Regions from separate parts of the Homo sapiens genome. Here regions 1 and 3 are each linked to region 2. The links are contacts of gene promoters, found by promoter capture Hi-C in human tissues and cell types (Jung and others, 2019). All regions are on one chromosome and are shown on one strand. Each heading gives the region's core, a stretch centred on a gene start or on the middle of the fragment in contact. The rest is flanking DNA. Distances are from core to core; before and after follow the strand shown.

Evidence for each region. The method cuts DNA at HindIII sites, captures the fragments that hold promoters and counts their contacts. A contact is called where the count stands out against the background at its distance.
Region 1: a contact is called between the fragment with the promoter of ICAM5 here and the fragment with the promoter of CARM1 in region 2, in 1 of the 25 tissues and cell types used here (spleen).
Region 3: a contact is called between the fragment with the promoter of EPOR here and the fragment with the promoter of CARM1 in region 2, in 1 of the 25 tissues and cell types used here (dorsolateral prefrontal cortex).

Annotation. Positions count from the first base shown.
Region 1 is chr19:10,288,151-10,291,201 of GRCh38, forward strand. It overlaps ICAM5 (intercellular adhesion molecule 5), which reads left to right and starts at 1,802. Exons shown (of 11, transcript NM_003259.4): 1 at 1,802-1,975; 2 at 2,922-3,051. The coding sequence starts at 1,894. ICAM4-AS1 (ICAM4 antisense RNA 1) reads right to left here and starts at 869. Exons shown (of 1, transcript NR_186335.1): 1 at 1-869. It overlaps ICAM4 (intercellular adhesion molecule 4 (Landsteiner-Wiener blood group)), which reads left to right. Exons shown (of 3, transcript NM_001544.5): 3 at 1-370. RefSeq lists a silencer at 657-726. The HindIII fragment of the contact is 10,372 bases long and covers 1-3,051 here.
Region 2 is chr19:10,870,169-10,872,945 of GRCh38, forward strand. CARM1 (coactivator associated arginine methyltransferase 1) reads left to right here and starts at 1,385. Exons shown (of 16, transcript NM_199141.2): 1 at 1,385-1,754. The coding sequence starts at 1,535. RefSeq lists silencers at 645-1,434, 1,565-1,614, 1,705-1,914 and an enhancer at 2,655-2,777. The HindIII fragment of the contact is 23,799 bases long and covers 1-2,777 here.
Region 3 is chr19:11,382,929-11,385,628 of GRCh38, forward strand. EPOR (erythropoietin receptor) reads right to left here and starts at 1,386. Exons shown (of 8, transcript NM_000121.4): 1 at 1,165-1,386; 2 at 169-304. The coding sequence starts at 1,279. RefSeq lists a silencer at 626-685. The HindIII fragment of the contact is 19,405 bases long and covers 1-2,700 here.

The DNA of each region.
Region 1 (3,051 bases), core at 552-3,051, 580 kb before region 2:
ACAATCTGGGGAAATGGCCATACATGGTGGCTGACGCCTGTAATCCCAGCACTTTGGGAGGCCGAGGCAGGAGAATCGCTTGAGCCCAGGAGTTCGAGACCAGCCTGGACAACATAGTGAGACCCCGTCTATGCAAAAAATACACAAATTAGCCTGGTGTGGTGGCCCGCACCTGTGGTCCCAGCTACCCGGGAGGCTGAGTTGGGAGGATCCTTTGAGCCCTGAAAGTCGAGGTTGCAGTGAGCCTTGATCGTGCCACTGCACTCCAGCCTGGGGGACAGAGCACGACCCTGTCTCCAAAAATAAAATAAAAATAAAAATAAATATTGGCGGGGGAACCCTCTGGAATCAATAAAGGCTTCCTTAACCAGCCTCTGTCCTGTGACCTAAGGGTCCGCATTACTGCCCTTCTTCGGAGGAACTGGTTTGTTTTTGTTGTTGTTGTTGTTTTTGCGATCACTTTCTCCAAGTTCCTTGTCTCCCTGAGGGCACCTGAGGTTTCCTCACTCAGGGCCCACCTGGGGTCCCGAAGCCCCAGACTCTGTGTATCCCCAGCGGGTGTCACAGAAACCTCTCCTTCTGCTGGCCTTATCGAGTGGGATCAGCGCGGGCCGGGGAGAGCCACGGGCAGGGGCGGGGTGGGGTTCATGGTATGGCTTTCCTGATTGGCGCCGCCGCCACCACGCGGCAGCTCTGATTGGATGTTAAGTTTCCTATCCCAGCCCCACCTTCAGACCCTGTGCTTTCCTGGAGGCCAAACAACTGTGGAGCGAGAACTCATCTCCAAAATAACTTACCACGCTGGAGTGAGACCACGAATGGTGGGGAGGGGAGGGTCCCACGGACATATTGAGGGACGTGGATACGCAGAAGAGGTATCCATGTGGTGGCAGCCGGGAAGGGGTGATCAGATGGTCCACAGGGAATATCACAAACTCGAATTCTGACGATGTTCTGGTAGTCACCCAGCCAGATGAGCGCATGGAGTTGGGGGTGGGGGGTGTCAAAGCTTGGGGCCCGGAAGCGGAGTCAAAAGCATCACCCTCGGTCCCTTGTTCTCGCGTGGATGTCAGGGCCCCCACCCACCGAGCAGAAGGCGGACTCAGGGGCGCTCCAGGGTGGCTCGAGCTCACACACGCTGAGTAGACACGTGCCCGCTGCACCCTGGGTAAATACAGACCCGGAGCCGAGCGGATTCTAATTTAGACGCCCGCGAACGCTGCGCGCACGCACACGTGTCCTCGGCTCGCTGGCACTTTCGTCCCGCCCCCTCCGTCGCGTGCGGGAGCTGACCCGGAGGGGTGCTTAGAGGTATGGCTCCGCGGGGTCAAAAGGAGAAGGATCAGTGAGAGAGGCATCCCCACACCCTCCCCTAGAACTGTCCTTTCCCCATCCAGTGCCTCCCAAATCTCTCTTAGTCCCCAAATGTATCCCCGCCCTAAGGGGCGCTGGTGGGAGGAGCTAAATGTGGGGGCGGGGCTCGGAGTCCAGCTTATTATCATGGCATCTCAGCCAGGGCTGGGGTAGGGGTTTGGGAAGGGCAACCCAGCATCCCCCGATCCCAGAGTCGCGGCCGGGGATGACGCGAGAGAGCGTGGTCGCCCCCAGAAGGCCCTGGGCCATCATGCCGGCCTCCACGTAGACCCCAGGGGTCGCTCACTCCTGCCAGCTCGCCTTCACCAAGGCCAGGAGCTTAGCGCACGCTCGCCTCCCGCCCCCCCGCCGCCTCTGCCGCCGCCCCCTCCTTGGAAACCAAGTTACCAACGTTAAACCAATCCCCAAGCGCAACTCTGCCTCCCCCACACCCCACCCGCCGCGCCGCGCGGAGCCGTCCTCTAGCCCAGCTCCTCGGCTCGCGCTCTCCTCGCCTCCTGTGCTTTCCCCGCCGCGGCGATGCCAGGGCCTTCGCCAGGGCTGCGCCGGGCGCTACTCGGCCTCTGGGCTGCTCTGGGCCTGGGGCTCTTCGGCCTCTCAGGTAAGAGCCCCGCTCTGGTTCGGGGTGGACAGGGCGGGGGCGGAGTCCCTGGACCTGAGAAACGGCCTCCTGTCCCTCCCAGCTCTGCCCTCGCCTCGCTCCCACGCCTCTGCCCCCACCTCGAGCCTGAGTCTTCTCCCCTTCCCCCTCCTCCCCAACACACACCCGAGCCCCAGCTTCCTGACTCCTCGATAGCCCCTACCCGCTTCGAGATCCTAGGTGTTCTTCCGCACCCAACCCTTCGCCCTGGAGACCCAGTGTCTCTCCTGTCCGCTCCCCGGGTACCTCCTTACGCTGTGCTGTGCACCATGGTCCACGGACTGGCATCTTCCCCACTCGCGGTCCGCGAAGACTCCATCTCTCCAACTACCCTGACTCAGAGGCGCTGTTCCCGCTCCACCCAGAGCCCTGGCAACCGGGTCCCTCAGCTGTTCCCGCGGTTCCTTCCATGAGCCCAGCCTTGCGTCCCGGCTCCGTGTTCTTCACCGGGTGTAGGGTCCTTCCTGATCCTTGACCCAGCCTCGTCTCTCCTTTGCCCTTGCCGCAAACGCACTCTCCTCGTATCCCGGCATTCTGCCAGGACCCTGAGAACTGGTTCATCCCCCATCCCCCATCCCGGGTCCCCTTCTCTCAGCCTTGCTGTGTTCATCCAAGAACCCACCTTTCCTCTCCTCTACGCCCTCCCCCCATGCTTTCCCGCCGCTCCATCGGCGCTTTGGAGACCATGGCTCTCTGCTACCACGTCCCAGAGACACCCTCGAGGTTTAGACTCTGGGAGTGCGCCTTTAAACCGGAGGCCTGGGCAGGACGCGGGACGCCTGGGTTCTTTCCCTGGCTGCAGCCTCTCCTCCTCCTCCCCGCCCTCTGAGAACCCTTGACTCGACATAGGGGCGCTAAGATGTCAGGGAGTTGGCTCCCCAGGCTCAGCCCGCGTTTCCCTGGGCAGCGGTCTCGCAGGAGCCCTTCTGGGCGGACCTGCAGCCTCGCGTGGCGTTCGTGGAGCGCGGGGGCTCGCTGTGGCTGAATTGCAGCACCAACTGCCCTCGGCCGGAGCGCGGTGGCCTGGAGACCTCGCT
Region 2 (2,777 bases), core at 135-2,634:
CTGGGCAACACAGTGAGACCCTGTCTCAAAAAACAAAAGGGGCCGGGCGCGGTGGCTCATGCCTGTAGGCCCAGCACTTTGGGATGCCGAGGCGGGCGGATCACCTGAAGTCAGGAGTTCAAGACCAGCCTGACCAACATGGTGAAACCTCGTCTCTACTAAAAATAAAAAATTAGCTGGGCGTGGTAGAGCATGCCTGTAGTCCCAGCTACTCGGGAGGCTGAGGCAGGAGAATCACTTGAACCCGGGAGGCGGAGGTTGCGGTGAGCTGAGATCGAGCCATTGCACTCCAGCCTGGGAGACAGAGCGAGACTCCGTCTCAAAGAAAAAAAAAAAAAAAAAAAAGGAATGAGGCGTAAATGAGGTCTAGGGAAGAGTTAAAGCTGGAGTGCTAGGAAGTGGCCCAAGCTCACTGGGTCGCCCAAAAGAGATGGGGCCACCCAAAATGAAGGGGGATGCAGAGAGAAGACGGGTTTGTGTGGCGGGAGAGGGGCCCTGCGCCGGGCCAGGCTGGACTCAGCATCGTTGGAGGAGGGGCTGAGAGAGGAGGGGGTCAAAGGATATCTTGTGCGAAAGGAGACAGTCAAACATTAAGGATTAAGAAGGCAATGTGGGCAGAGATGATGGGGAAGGGAGGAGGAGCGGTCGAATGTCGGGGAGGGGTCCTTTCAACCGGGCTCAGGTTGCTCCTGGAGGCCAGGGCTCATCGGAAATCGTCGGTGCGGGGGCGGTGGGGGGAAGGGTTGGGGGCGAGGCCCGGGCGCTGGCCACGCCCTTTCCCCCGCCCATTCCCCAGAGCGGGGCGGCTGACAAAGCGAGTCCGGGTGGGAGGGCGCGGGCAGGCACGGGGGCGGGGCCTCGTCGCGGCTGGGCCACGCCTCCCTGAGGGCTGCCTCACAAAGCCGGGCGGGCCCGGGGGGGTGGGGCCCAGTCTCAGGGGCGTGTCCAGGTCGGGGCAGGGAAGCCGCATCACGACGCGCGGCTGCTTGTGTGGGGCGGGGTACAGGGCGTGTCCACGCGGCCGAGCACCGCCCCCGCCGTCCCCGCACCGCCTCACTCGAAAGCAGCCGTTAATGAGGCGCCGGCCTGGGGGCGGGGCCCAGGCCTCCGAGGGGCGTGCCCGCGCGCCCGAGCACCGCCCCCGACGTACCCTCCCGCCCCGCAGTTCCCGGGCGGTGGAGCCACCTCACAAAGCGGCGACCGTTCTCGCGGGGCGGGGCGTAGCCGGTCCCGCCCCACGGGGTGCCCTCTCGTTCGCTCGCTAGCTCCCCGCGCCCAGGACGGCCGGCAGAGGGCGCTGCGCCACGGGGCCGGGCCGCGGCGACGGTGGCGGCGGCGGCGGCGAGGCGGCGCGTGGCCGGCAGGCGGCGCTGCCCGGCTCGGCCTCGGCCTGCACGGCGGCTGCGGCGGCGGTAGCGGCAGCGGCGGCGGCGGCGGCGGCGGCGGCGGCGGCGGCGGCGGCGGCGGCGGCAGCGGCGGCGGCCTGGGCCCGGGCGCAGCGGCGGCGGCGGCGGGGCCTGGAGCCGGATCTAAGATGGCAGCGGCGGCGGCGGCGGTGGGGCCGGGCGCGGGCGGCGCGGGGTCGGCGGTCCCGGGCGGCGCGGGGCCCTGCGCTACCGTGTCGGTGTTCCCCGGCGCCCGCCTCCTCACCATCGGCGACGCGAACGGCGAGATCCAGCGGCACGCGGAGCAGCAGGCGCTGCGCCTCGAGGTGCGCGCCGGCCCGGACTCGGCGGGCATCGCCCTCTACAGCCGTGAGTACGGGGCCCCGGGGCAGGCGCAGGGCCGGGGCTGCTCACGAGGCCGGCCCGGGGCGGGGGCCGGCGGGGAGGGGCCCTGAGCGCGGGGGCCTGGCGTGGGGTCCCCGGGACTGAGCCGGTGGCCTGCAGGGAGCGACCGTGGAGGGCCGGTGCCAGGGGACAGACAGAGAAAAGAGGGCGTGCGTGGTGGCCGGAGGGGCAAGGTGCCCAGAGTGAGCAAGGGAGCGCGAAATGGGGAGTGAAGGGCCTGAGATTTGGGAGGGGTGGGTGAGCAGGAAGTGGGGGGCTCTGAGTGGAAGGGGAATTTGGAGGACGCCAGGCGTGGTGGGCTTAAGCGTGGGGGAGGGAGGTCCGGGGTGCGGGAGAGGTGGGCGTCTCGGGGGCGGGCGTGGCCGCCTCTGCAGGGAGGAGGGTGGGGCGTGGGCGGCCCGGGATCCCTCTGGGGACCCCCTGGATAGCTCAGGACGGTTGGAAAGTGTTTGCTGGTCTGGGGCGCCCGCGAGTACCGAGTTCCACCGCTGTGCGAGGTGTGGCGTTCAGGACCCCCGAATGGGAAACTTCAGGATCTGGGGAGAGGGCCCATGCGGGGACGGTGGGAGCCGCAGGGTGAGCTCCTCGTGGAAACGTGGACGGGACGGGCCCCTTCCTGATGCCGGGCTTCGAAGTAAGAGCTAACAGCCTCCTCCCATCTTCTTTTGGGGGATGTGAGAAGCTGGTTACATTTTCCGAAGCTGCTTTCAAAACTGACATTTCACTGGGGGGAAAAGAAAATCACAAATGCGTTTGCCAGCACCCCCCACCCCCGCTCCCAGTCTTTGTAGTTCATTCTTCTTCTTGTTACTCCTTCTTATCTCTTCTCTTTGATTCCTTGTTCACATTTTGCTACTCTGTGTCATTTGGCTTTGTCTTTCAGGGCTTCTTGCACTGATGCCCTGGGGAACCCCTCAGGAGGCCTCTAGCTAGCTTGGGTCCTGTGTGAATTTTTTGCCACTTTGGAAACGGCCCGATTAAAGGAAA
Region 3 (2,700 bases), core at 136-2,635, 510 kb after region 2:
CCCATAGAGGGCGTGCCAGCCCTGGACCCGCAGGTTTCCCTCCAGTGACCACGACTGGAGGCGCCGTCGGGCCTCAAACAGCAGGGGACATACGAGGCTACGACCTCCAGGGAGCTCTGCCCCACCCCCTCCCTCCGCCCTTGGAGGCACCCGCCGGATCGGACTCACTCGAGCTGGTAGGAGAAGCTGTAGTTGCCCGGGCCCACCCCAGCGCTCGCCGCTTCCTCCCAGAAACACACCAAGTCCTCCAACCGCTCGGTGAAGCACAGAAGCTCTTCGGGCCCCCGGGCCGCCAGCAAGGCCGCTGGGGAGGGGCGACAAAGGAAGGGCATGGGGGTCTGAGCTCTATCCTCGGGAGACAGCCCCCTCCTCTTCCCTCCCGCAGCCTGGGCGGACCCGATAAGAAAAAAGCCCCGCCCTGCCATCTTCCCAAGCGGGTCCCTTGGAGGGGTCCGCAGAGGTGGTGCCCCCCTAATTCCCAGGGGCAAGTTTCTCGCCTTACTGTCCCCCGCCGTCACCACTGGCGCACACCTGCCCACCCAGCGGCCAGCTGAGCTGGGCGCGGCGTTCAAGACCTCGAGCTCGGGACTGCCAGCCCCGCCCCAGCCTAGGACACGCGCGCGGCTGGGGGTGTGTGCGGAGAGGCGGGCCCCCTATCGGCCCCGGCAGGCTCCCCGCCAACCGATAGCGCCAACCGTGCCCCCCGCCTCCCTCCCTCCACCGGGCCGGGCAAGTGATCTGGCGCCCTCACACAAACCGTGTTTACAGTAGCCTGTGGCTTGGCCCCTCTAACTCGGACCCGGGCTTTACCCTCCCTCCCCTAGGGAGGGTCGGCTTGGTCCCCACCCCCCAGGGACCTTAGCACCAAGTCAGCCCCCTTAGGATTTAGCATGTCCCAGACTCCCTGAAAAGGTAAAACGGGAATGTTAAGCCCACTCTAGCTCTTGCCCGGGACGCGATCAGGAGTCTTGGATCCTAACATACCCCACCCCGCCCCCCACCCATCCAGGACCCAGTCTAAGGGTTCAGATGCCAGCTTGGCCCCCAGGACCCGGTCAGGAAGTCCAGAAACAGGCATGGCCCCCAGGACCTAGGCTGGGAGTTCAGGCCCCAGCATGGTCCTGCAGGCTCCAGCGTAGGGGTCCACACGCAGCTCATCCTTACCTTTGCTCTCGAACTTGGGGTCCGGGAGGTTAGGCGGGGGCGCCCAGGCGGCCCCAGCGAGCAGGAGACAAAGGGAGCCGACCTGGGGCCAGAGGGACGCCCCGAGGTGGTCCATGATACAGCCCCCGCCACGGGGAGCCCAGGGCTCCTGCCCCTCCGTCCCCCGCCCCCGGCACAGTCCACAGCTGGGTCAGCAGCTGCCTCCGCCGGACGCAGCTGACCAGGCCCTTCCCGACCAGGCGCCTCTAAGTGGCAGATCCCCGAGGGGGCGGGGCCAGCACTCAGCCTGGGTAGAGATAAGTGCCTGGCGGGAGGAGGCAGGGGCCCTTCCCGAGCCCAGAGGCCGCTTGGGGGCAGGGGAGGGAGTTGGGCCGCAACAGCTCCCGTTCTGGCTTCAGACACACGTTTTTTTTTTCTTTGTGGCCCTGGACAGGTGACTTACCTTACCTGAGCTTCAGACTTCTCATCTGTAAAATCTAGCCTGGCACATAGCGAACATTCCAAAAAATGTACCTACTGATTTTATCGCAGAAATCAGCATCTCTTCCCAGCCTGGAAATAAATAAAAATTATTTTCTCTCTCTCTCTCTCTCTCTCTCTCTCTCTCTCTCCTTTCCTTCCTTCCTTCCTTCCTTCCTTCCTTCCTTCCTTCCTTCCTTCCTTCCCTCCTTCCCTCCTTCCCCCTCTCTCTCTCTGTCTCAGGGTGTTGCTCTGTCACCCAGGCTGGAGTGCAGTGGCACAATCATAGCTCACTGCAGCCTCTGGACTGAAGCAATCTTCCCACTGCACCTGGCTAATTTTTAAAATTCTTTGTAGAGATGGGATCCCACTATGTTGTCCAGGCTGGTCTTGAAATCCCGGACTTAAGCAATCCTCCAGCCTCCATCTCCCAATGTGCTGGGAATACCAGCACGAGCCACTGAAGCCGGCCAATAATAATCCTTGCAACGACCAGCAGTTGAGTGTTTGCACAGTGCTAGGCCATGCTCCTGGGCAGTATGCATAATATGTGAGATTTTCATTTACGAATTTTTGGGAAAAAAATTTTTACCACCCACATTTTTATTCTCTTGGGCTGGGCCCGGTGGCTCACGCCTATAATCCCAGCACTTTGGGAGGCCGACGTGGGCAAATCACTTGAGGTCAGGAGTTTGAGACCAGCCTGGCCAACATGGTGAAATCCCATCTCTACTAAAAATACAAAAATTAGCCAGGTGTGGTGGCGTGTGCCTGTAATCCCAGCTACTCAGGAGGCTGAGGCATGAGAACTGCTTCAGTCTGGGAGATGAAGATTGCAGTGAGCCAAGATCATGCCACTGCAACTCCAGCCTGGGCAACAGAGTGAGACTGCATCTCAAAAAATAATAATAATTGGCTGGGCGCGGTGGCTCATACCTGTAATCCCAACACTTTGGGAGGCCGAGACAGGCGGATCATGAGGTCAGGAGTTCGAGACCAGCCTGGGCAACATGGCGAAACCACGTCTCTACTAAAAATACAAAAATTAGCCAGGCGTAGGCCGGGCGCGGTGGCTCA